2 separate regions of the Homo sapiens genome follow, and region 2 is linked to region 1. Evidence: promoter capture Hi-C in 16 types of primary human blood cells and fetal thymus (Javierre and others, 2016). All regions are on one chromosome and are shown on one strand. The core of a region is centred on a gene start or on the middle of the fragment in contact, and the rest is flanking DNA. Distances in the headings are between cores, read along the strand shown. Region 1 holds the start of C7orf33 (chromosome 7 open reading frame 33). Region 2 has its middle 28 kb from the start of CUL1.

Region 1 (4,860 bases), core at 1,941-4,440:
GACGATAAACATTTTTATAGTAGACTTTCACACAAGACAAAGATCAAAGGCATGTGTAATCGATGATAAAAGGAAGTGTTTCGAGTGATAAAAAAGTCATTCTCAAGTATATCTTGGTGTTGATTTTATTTTTAATAGCTCAGCTATGAGACTGTGACTTTGTGCATATACTTAAAACAGAGCTAACATTGGAAGCCTCTAACTTCACAGTTAGAGGGTCTTCATGCCCAAAGCACCTCCAACCATCCAAGCCATGATGGCACTCATTCTGCTGTTCCATCCCTTTTCGGAAGATGTGCAGAAGTCATCCTCAGAGTCCTCGGCACTATGCTTATAATTTGGACTTTGAACACCACGTGATCTCTGGCACCTGGTTATGGGGGTCCAGTATCCACAGCCCCCACTGGGAATTATGGCATTTCTCTTTTGTAGCATACAATACCAAATAATTAGGCTTTTTCTGTGAAAATAAACTGCTTTTAATACATGTATTATTAAACCAATAAAGCATTAATATTTACTAATTACTAATTTAAGCAAAGTAAAACCTATTTCAGAGTAAGGGAAAAGCATGCAGAAACACACATTGTTATGAGCTGTTGATAAACAAGGCTTAATATAATCCTGGTTTTCCTCATTCTATCTTAAAGGGACATTTCAAACTCTTGCTTTCATAAACAAAACTTTGTAATTTGAAAGAGTCCAGGTTTTTATAATGATCACGTTCCTTAAAATTAAACGACAGTTTTCACTTTTCTTAAAGGGAAAAGTGTTCAAAACTTTCTCACAGAGAAAGCATTGATTTTCCTCTGAGTTCCTCCCATGAACTGTCTTGATCGCTGCCAACTCAGTTCCTTCTGTATTCTGTGCATGTGGAATACACTGTTTTCTGCTTAACGAGTTATTTCCAACCCCATCCCCAGCCACACCTCAGTTCCACGAGTGTTCGTGGCTCAATGACCTAGGGACCCCAAGCATTCACCATAAATAAGGCTGTTTACTGACCTATTTTTACTAGGACTACTGAGATATGCTGAACCCTGGCGGGGGTGGGAGTCGGGGGGATTGAAGGTACACTTCTCCCTAGCACCATCAGTCATTGTTCAGATATTTAAATTTCACAAACAGAATCAATGGCCTGCTGGGGGCATTGTCACTTACACCGAGCAGGGCCATCTGTCGCAGCACTGGCATTTTCAGGCATTTTAGATGACAGCATTGCGGGATCTCGTTCTTTGTTCGTGGATTTCAGGATGAAGTCCTTCAATGGGGCTTCATGACTGACCAAGGTTTGAAATTGATAATGTCCCCAGATGGGGACTTGCTGATGCGGCTGCATTCACAGCAATTAGAAGATAATCTGGTGTAAAAACTGTCCGGAGAGCGAGGGGCACAGAATCCCTGAGCTCAGGTTGAGCAGGGGAAGAGAAAGCCAGATCTCCATTCTGGAGGCAGAGTTTTCCACTTTTCCCTAAGGGGTCGTCTCAGCAGCCGGCCTCTCAGCTACAACGTGCGGAAATCTCACTGCCCGATGTGCTAATCACAGAATTGCACAGGTACTCCCTGAATCCAACTTGGGTTATTAAAACAACAATGAGGCTTAGGCATTTGGCTCAGTCCACCCCCAGGGTGACCAGCTGGTCACCTCACTCCGCAACCCAAATCCAGGGGATTCATTCGTTGTCTAGGAATAACTTCTTCCACCTTGGGAATTCTCTGATTTACTCTTACCTAGGTCCACTGGTCTTGACCAAAATGTGAGGTGTCCTTAACTTAAGGTTTTGACTTTTAAGAGGCAGTCGAGGAAATAATATTATGAGGTCTGTCTATTTCTTTAGTGGTCAAAGACAGATAAGTAAAAAGGCAAAGCTAGAGTCCGAATGTATGGCTGCAGGTTCAAGATTCCAGGCCAAGTTCTTGGAACTCCAGCACCTCTAGACTCACCAGCCCCACCAGCCCCTCTGGCCCCTCCAGCCCCACCAGCCCCACCAGCCCCACCAGCCCCTCCAGCCCCTCCAGCTCTGCTGCAGGAAATCCTGCCTCAGGGAATCATGATGCACCACCCAAGGAAGTATTTGCAGAAAAAAGAGATTCCATTATTGCCTTCCCTCAAGGGTGGTGTTGAGCCCATTAAGCTTTTCCCCAGCAGTACACAGAGTAATCTTAGGGATTCTGGTGGGAAAAATATCCCAAATTCTGCTTCCTTATGCTTCACCACATGACCCTAGGGCACACGCACTAATCAAGAACAGCCCAGGGCATCCTGTCACCCCCCACGGTGCACCTGCAAACTGGCTTTTACAGCAACCTTGTCTTCCAAATGGGTCCGTATCTTTCTAGGCATCTTTTGTAATGCTAACCTGTTTGGCATTACCCAGAAATGCTAACATTTCTACCACTTTAACTAATCTTAAGAGATTAAATCACACTCCATGATACTCCTGACAACAAATAGCATTTTAACCAGTAATTTACGATAAGAAGATTTTCAATCAGTGGGCTAAGCCCTTCCCTGGTGATTTAAGAAACTGCCAGCCTCGATGGAGATTCTTCCATCAATTCCTCATCATTATAAAAGAAACAATGGAGGAAAAACTCATCCAATTAAGTGACAATTCCAATGTGTAAATCTTGTAATATTTTTTGCATTTGTGATATGGGTTCTACACTAAAAATGCAACTTGTCTAATCTGAATGAGATGAAAAATCCTGAAAAAGGATGTTATCCTCAATATTTTGTTTGTGCCTCTTGATTTAGTAAACTCCCAACCACTTTTTCATCCTTCCCTGCCAAACCCCGCTACAAAATGTTTCTCATTATGACCTGAGACATTAATTCTGATTGTAGAGGTTTTAGATCATTTCTTCTAGGTGTTAATCAGTTCTGGCCATATGGTGAGGGTGAGGTAATCATTATTACTTTACAATGAATGCCCTTAATTACTTTTTCAGTAGTAATATTAGTCCTTCTGTTTATTTGAGTACCTAAGAGCTGCAGGCAACGTGATCTGAATTACATGGAGGACAAGCTCCAGCTGACTTTCCGTAAACTCGCATTAGGATTCTAATAGGAGACGACAGGAGCAGGTGGGGATAATGAGCTGGCGGAAGGGGCTGCCTATCACACTGCTCGGTGGCCCCTCTTTCACCCCCACTTTGCCTCAGGCATTTTCTACTCAGCTGTGACCTTACTTATGGTGATGCCAATCCAGTGGTCAGGAGCGAGGCGCCCAGCCTGTGTCTGAATCCTCCTACTGACCCTGGGGATCCGTGCGACTTGATCTTAGATATTGGTGGTGAAGCGCCGCTCTCCTTGACAGCATCCAGGAAAGGTAATTACCTTTGCCAAAATGCAAGTGGAAGTTCAAAGCCTCAGCCTTGAAGAGTGTCCCTGGAGACTTCCAGGCCCCCAATGTGAATGTGAAGCCCTCCTGCCCAGTGGGGCAAGGCGCCGGATTGACCTTCGCCTGAGTGGGAGGGCAGTCGCTGTTTGGGTCCACGTTAGGGGCGGTCCAGGTCAATTTAACTTGTCATATGCCACGGGAAGACATAAGGTAAGTTAATGATTCTAAGATGAATCAACTGCTCTTTGAGTCAGTCAGTATCTCTTGAGAATTCATTCACTCAATCCATGAATGTTTTTGACTCTCTACTATGTGTTATGGAACTGGGCTTAACGACATTGAAGTAAAGAGAGAGACAGAGATTAATTCACTGCCCCAAAGAAGGCCTGGAATCTTCTTAGGGAAAAGAATCCTCACAAAACACTCCACTGAGTATTCTTGTGTTTAGCCTGAGTCATGTTGATTTGAAAAATTCCAGCGTAAAAATTGTATATTTTCACACAGTGTGGTAGAAGGAATGCGCTTGTTCTCAGACTATGTTTTGCCCTGGAGATGGGTCCACAGGAAGCCTCTATCTTGGTCACCCTTTGGCACAAGCTTTGCACCTGTTCCCTTCTCCTTGCCTAGATTCTTGTCTCTTCTCTCGCTTTAAAGACCAGGAGTTGTTGTTGTTGTTTTAGAGATAGTATCTTGCTCTGTCACCCAGGCTGGAGTGCAGTGTCACAATCATAGCTCACTGCAGCATCAACCTCCTGGCTTCAAGTGATCCTCCCAGAGGAGCCTCCCGGGTGGCTAGGACTACAGCCATGTGCCATCAGGCTTAGCTAATTTTTTTATTTTTTGTAGAAATGGGGTCTTGCCATGTTGCCCAGGCTGGTCTTGAACTCCTGTCCTCAAACGATCCTCCCACTTCAACATCCCGAAGTGCCACCCATGCCCAGCAAGACCTGGATCCTTAACTCTTTGCCTGTCTTTGATCTTTGACACCTCCTGATCCCCAAGCCCCTGCCTCCCACTAGGCAGGCATTTTTGGTTAAAGTATGAGCTCCCACTTTGTATTTATCTCCAGCTTTGGGTGTTCAGTTTGATGGGAACCACAGGTGTCCCCACCTAGTTCTCCAGCCCTAATTTGTTTTCTCCCATGTTGCAGTTCCTGGCTTCTTCCCATTTGCCCACACCCTCATTGTGGCACAGTGCCCCAAACTGACACATGCCACAGGCTCAGAGTATCTTCTGATATGAAGAATGACTCTGGTCATTCGAGGGCAGAGAGGATTTCATGACCTTTCCCTGAGAACAGCAGCATGAACTGCAGGGTCAGCAAGGGGGTTGTGTCTGCCTGCTGCTAAGGTCAGATGCAGACAGCCCATGTCAGGGAAAGCCCATTTAGCATAAGAAGAGTAAAAAGAAGAAAATACCTCCTCAGCCAGGGGTACTTTGATGTGAACCAATACAATTAGTCTCTGAATGATGAATATAAATGATAATCAATGACGTATATGTGCTTAAAAGAAGG
Region 2 (5,014 bases), core at 1,289-3,788, 81 kb after region 1:
TTTTCCCAAGGAAGTAGAAGATCATCTACTGAGAGAAAAGTGGTAGGAGAGGAAGGCTGCTTTGAGAAGAGTGGCAGGGTTTGGACAGGCCTCCCTGGAGAGGGGAAACTAGAGCAGTCCAAAGACGTACAGGTGGGGCAGGTGCCCACGATGCTCTGCCAAGTCCCCCAGATCCTTCACCATTTCAGTGTTCACGGCCTACAGCCAGCACCTGCACCTATAAGCCCTGGGGCTGACCCCAGGCTATGGGAGCCCATTTGCCTGGATAGCTGGAAGTGTGGAGGTATTTAAGAATTCCAAGGGGCAGAGGCAGACTGGAAAGGTGGCGATACAATGAGAAACAAGTGAGAGTCAGAGTGTTGGTAATTCTTAATGGGATAGTGATTAAGAGTGTGAGCTCTGGAGTCGAACTGCTCAGGTCCAAATCCTAGCTCCAACACTGACCCTGGCAAAGTAGATGACCTTCATCAGCTCTTTGGCTAGATATTTAACCTCTCTGAGCCTTGATTTCCCACTTGAAAACACTAGCAAATTAAATGACCTTCATTGGATCTTGGGCAAGATATTTAGCCTCTCTCAGCCTTGATTTTCTCACCTGAAAAATGGGGATAGTTTTTTATTGTGGTAAAATATATAACATAAAATTTACCATTTTAGTTATTTTTAGATATACGGTTCAGTGGCATCAAGCATATTCACACTGTTGTTCAACCATTACCACCATCCATGTCCAGAACTGTTGCATCTTCCCAGACTGAAACTCCGTACTCATTAAATACTAACTCCCAATTCTCCCCCTTTCCCCAACCCCTGGCAACCACCATTCTATTACCTTTTTTAATTATTTATTTATTTATTTATTTATTTATTTATTTGACAGAGTCTCACTCTTTTACCCAGGCTGGAGTACAGTGGCGCCATCTCAGCTCATTGCAATCTCTGCCTAACAGGTTCAAGCGATCCCGCCACCTCAGCCTTCCGAGTAGCTGCGATTACAGGCACGCACCACCATACCTGGCTAATTTTTGTATTTTTAGTAGAGACGGGGTTTCACAATGTTGGCCAGGCTGGTCTTGAACTCCTGACCTCAAGTGATCTGCCTGCCTCAGTCTCCCAAAATGCTGGGGTTAGAGGTGTGAGCCACTGCGCCTGGCCCTCTATTTTCTGTTTCTGTGAATTTGCCTATTCTAGATTCCTCATATAAGTGAAATCATACTGTATTTGTCCTTTTGTATCTGGCTTATTTCATTTAACATAATATCCTAAACCTAAAGATTCATCTGTTGTAGCACGCATCAGAATTTCCTTCCTTTGTAAGGCTGACTCATATTCCATTGTATAGATAGGCCACATTTTGTTAATCCATTCAGCTGTTGACAGACACTGGGTTGCTTTTTCTGTTGGCTGTTGTAAATTATGCTGCTTCTTGGGTGTACAAATATCTGTTCAGATCCCAGCTTTCAGTTCTTTTGAGTATGTACCCAGAAGACAAATTGCTAGATCATACGGTCATTCTATGCTTAACTTTTTTGAGGAGGGAATAATTTTTTAAACTGTTACAAACATATTATGTATTAGAGTCATTGCTAGTGGTGATGGGGTGTTGTAGGAATGAGGAATGGGATGGCTGGAACGATAGGAAAGTTGTGATGAGAGAATGGAATCTTGCCCTTTAAACTTTGAGAGGAGGAAGACTTTTAGACAATGATGAAGAAAGGTTTAGAGTATGATCATAAGCGTGGAGGTAAAGTCACTGGAGCTGAGGCTGAGAGGAGCTCAGGACACTGCACGAGATGAGTCATGTTCATATACTCTGCAGTGCCCTAGGAAAATAGCAGGATGAAGAGAAATGTTGAGTTTTGGAAAGGAGCAAAAAATAATAGATGTAGTTGATAAATGTCAGTGGTAAGCGAGGAAGGTAGCATAATTCTTAAATGAAGAAGACATGAATGAGGGGCAAAGATGAATGCCTTGGAAATGACAATCCAAAATTAGGATGATACAGAAATCCTTCCTGTCCTGTGGCCAGCACAGCACATGAGTTTGAAAACTCAGCTCTCAGAGAAGTGTAGTGGAAGCCGTGTTCTTAGGGAAGATTCGGGTTTCAGTTAAAACGAGGAACTATGAAGGGCCCTCTCCAAAGCAGATGAGCATGTGGGAAAACAGGAAATCAGAAGGCCCCTCAGATAGAGTAAAGAGGGGTTGGTGGTGTGGTGCTGCTCTGCAAACGGAAGAGAGCAGAGAGCCAGCTGGCTCTGCATTTTGAACTGTGAGCAATGGTAAGCACAGTAGCAGAAAACTGGCCACTCAGAGATGTCCATAGCTGATCCCTGGACCTGGGAATATGTTACCTTACATGGCAAAAGGGACTTTGCAAATATGATTAAGCTAAGGATCTTCACTCTTGAGATTATTCCAGATTGCCTGGGTGGGCCCAAATAATCATAAAGTTCCTTCTAAGTGGACGGCAGGAGCGTGAGGGTCAAAGAAGATGTGATATTGGAGGCAGAGGTCAAAGTGATGTAGGGCAGTGAGCCAAGGAGTGTGGGCAGCCCCTAGAAGTTGGAAAAGACAAGGAAATGGATTCTCCCTTGAAGCCCTCAGAAAGATCATAGCCCTGCAGATAGAGTGTAGATTTCTGACCTCCAGAACAGTAAAATAATACAGTTGTGTTATCTAAAGCCACTACACGCATGGTAATTTGTTACAGTAGCAGTAGGAAACTGATACAGTGGGGGAAAGGATGAGAGCCTTTCTTGGATTGGCTGGCCTCAAATGCTCCCTCCAGCCCTGACCCAGTTCCATGTGGTATTAGAAGTCTGATGAATTCTACAGTCTTGTCAGATATTAGAGTAGCATATTAATGGAAAGGTGCTTTACCCTGGGTGATCTTCTCCTGGTGGACACAGAAAAGATATTTGTTACTTCCAAGACTGTATTAGTTATCTATTGCTATGTAACAAATTACCCCAAAACTTGGTGGCTTAAAGCAGCAAATATTTATGATCTCACGTTTTCTGTAGGTTGGGAATTTGGACATGGCTGAGCTGAGCGGTTTTGGCTCAGGGTCTCTCTTACAGTCTTGGGCAGGAGGTCGGCAGGGGCTATAGTCATCTGAAGGCTTGACTGGGGCTGGAGGATCCACTTCTAATATGGTGCCCTTGATGCAGGATTTTTTTGCTCCTTAGTTCAGCTAAAATCTGGGTTCTTGTCTCAGAACCAGGAAAAATTAGGCATGTGGAACATCGAAGGTTAAGGAAGGCAGATTTATTTGGTGAAAAGAAAGCTCTCAGCAAAGAAAGAGGGGATCCTGCCAACAGGCTGCCACATCGCAGACTGAATACCAGGCCACCACACACGAGCTGGAGAGGCCAGGCTCCTCTCTCTGCATAAGGCATGAGTTCCTGGTGGCTCCACCCCATTCCCCCAGTGCAAGTGGGCCTCCAGTCTGTTGTGGGCATGCCCAGGCAAGACCCTGTGCAGGCTCCCTTATCTGCCTCCTGAATCTACCACCCTCACATGACTGTAGGCCTTGGTTTCTCACCACATGGGGACCTCCTCACAACATGGCAGCTAACTTCCCTCAGAGAGAGAAATCCAAGGGAAAGTGAGCAAAGAAGAAACCATACTGCCTTTTGGCAGTATGTTCTCCCAAGTATCCCAAGGTTCACATCCCTGCTTCCATTTTATTCTACTTATTTGAAGCAAGTCACTAAGTCTAGTGTACTTTCAAAGTAAAAGGAATTTGGTTCCACCTCTTAAATGGAGGAGTATAAAAATATTGTGCAGCCTGGGCAACATGGCAACACCCCGTCTGTACAAAAAAAAAAAAATACAAAAAATTAGCTGGGCATGGTGCCATGTGCTTATAGTCCCAGCTACTTGGGAGGCTGAGGTGGGAGGATTGCTTCTTGAGCCCAGGAGGTGGAGGTTGCAGTGAGCCAAGATAACACCACTGCATTCTAGCCTGGGTATCAGAGTGAGACCCTGTCTTAAAAGAAGAAAAATACTGTGTACATATATTAAAGCCATCATAAAGAACATTAATTCCGAGGACTACTATAGTTCAAAGATTGAGGTCTCCATTGGGTAGATGGAAGTGATATGCAGCAGATACAATATTATACAATTTTGCATCTACAAATCATGTTTTTAAATGATAACACCTGATTTTGGCAGAGCCCACATCATTGCTGACATTAAAACTAGACAAATAAGCAAAACTCTTAGTAGTCTTAGTTTCTTTGTCAATACAAATCAATTTTAAAAATTGATAGGTTTAGAAAATTCATCTCTTGTCTGGCCGTGGTGGCTCATGCCCGTAATCCCAGCACTTTGGGAGACTGAGGCAGGCAGATCACCTGAGGTCAGGAGTTTGAGACCAGCCTGGCCAACATGGTGAAACCCCATCTCTACTAAAAATACAAAATTAGTCAGGCGTGGTGGCACATGCCTGCAATCCCAGCTACTTGGGAGGCTGAGGCAAGAGAATTGCTTGAACCCGGGAGGTGGAGGTTGCAGTGAGCTGAGATTGTGCCATTGTACTCCAATGTACATTGTACTTCTTTGTACTGGGTGAAAAGAGCAAAACTCTATCTCAAAAAAAAAAATCATCTCTCAACAAAGTACTATTTTCAAATAATCCTGTTGAAAATACTTGTAATATACCTTATGTAATGATTGCTAAAGTCATCCTAAAATATTGAATATCATATGGTATTTGCAGTTTGGAGGGGTTTTTTTTACATTGTTCACTAGCACTTGAACATCCTGCCTATTAAATTTGTGCAAAATATAAATATTGGGAGCTTTAAAGCTGGGCTAAAGTTGCCTCAGAAACTCAGAAATTCTTGAGAAACCTTTTCTGTAACTTTCTTTCTTTCTTTTCATCCTTCTTTGACATTAATATGAATCATCAGTTTCAAAAAATTGCTTGCTGAGATCTGATTTGACATCATGCTTTTATTACAATAATTATTCTATACTCAAATGTTTTGGCTAAAAACACTTGATT

Evidence for each region. Contacts are between HindIII fragments. The CHiCAGO score rates a contact against its expected background, and 5 or more counts as called.
Region 2: a fragment that was not itself captured here is called in contact with the fragment with the promoter of C7orf33 in region 1 in 9 of 17 cell types (activated CD4 T cells, M2 macrophages, naive CD4 T cells and 6 more); the score reaches 10.0 in activated CD4 T cells.

Annotation. Positions count from the first base shown.
Region 1 is chr7:148,587,576-148,592,435 of GRCh38, forward strand. C7orf33 (chromosome 7 open reading frame 33) reads left to right here and starts at 3,191. Exons shown (of 3, transcript NM_145304.4): 1 at 3,191-3,554. The coding sequence starts at 3,351. The HindIII fragment of the contact is 1,806 bases long and covers 2,134-3,939 here.
Region 2 is chr7:148,668,781-148,673,794 of GRCh38, forward strand. No RefSeq gene overlaps it. Among named protein-coding and RNA genes, the nearest start is that of CUL1, 28 kb to the right of the region's middle. The HindIII fragment of the contact is 5,093 bases long and covers 1-5,014 here.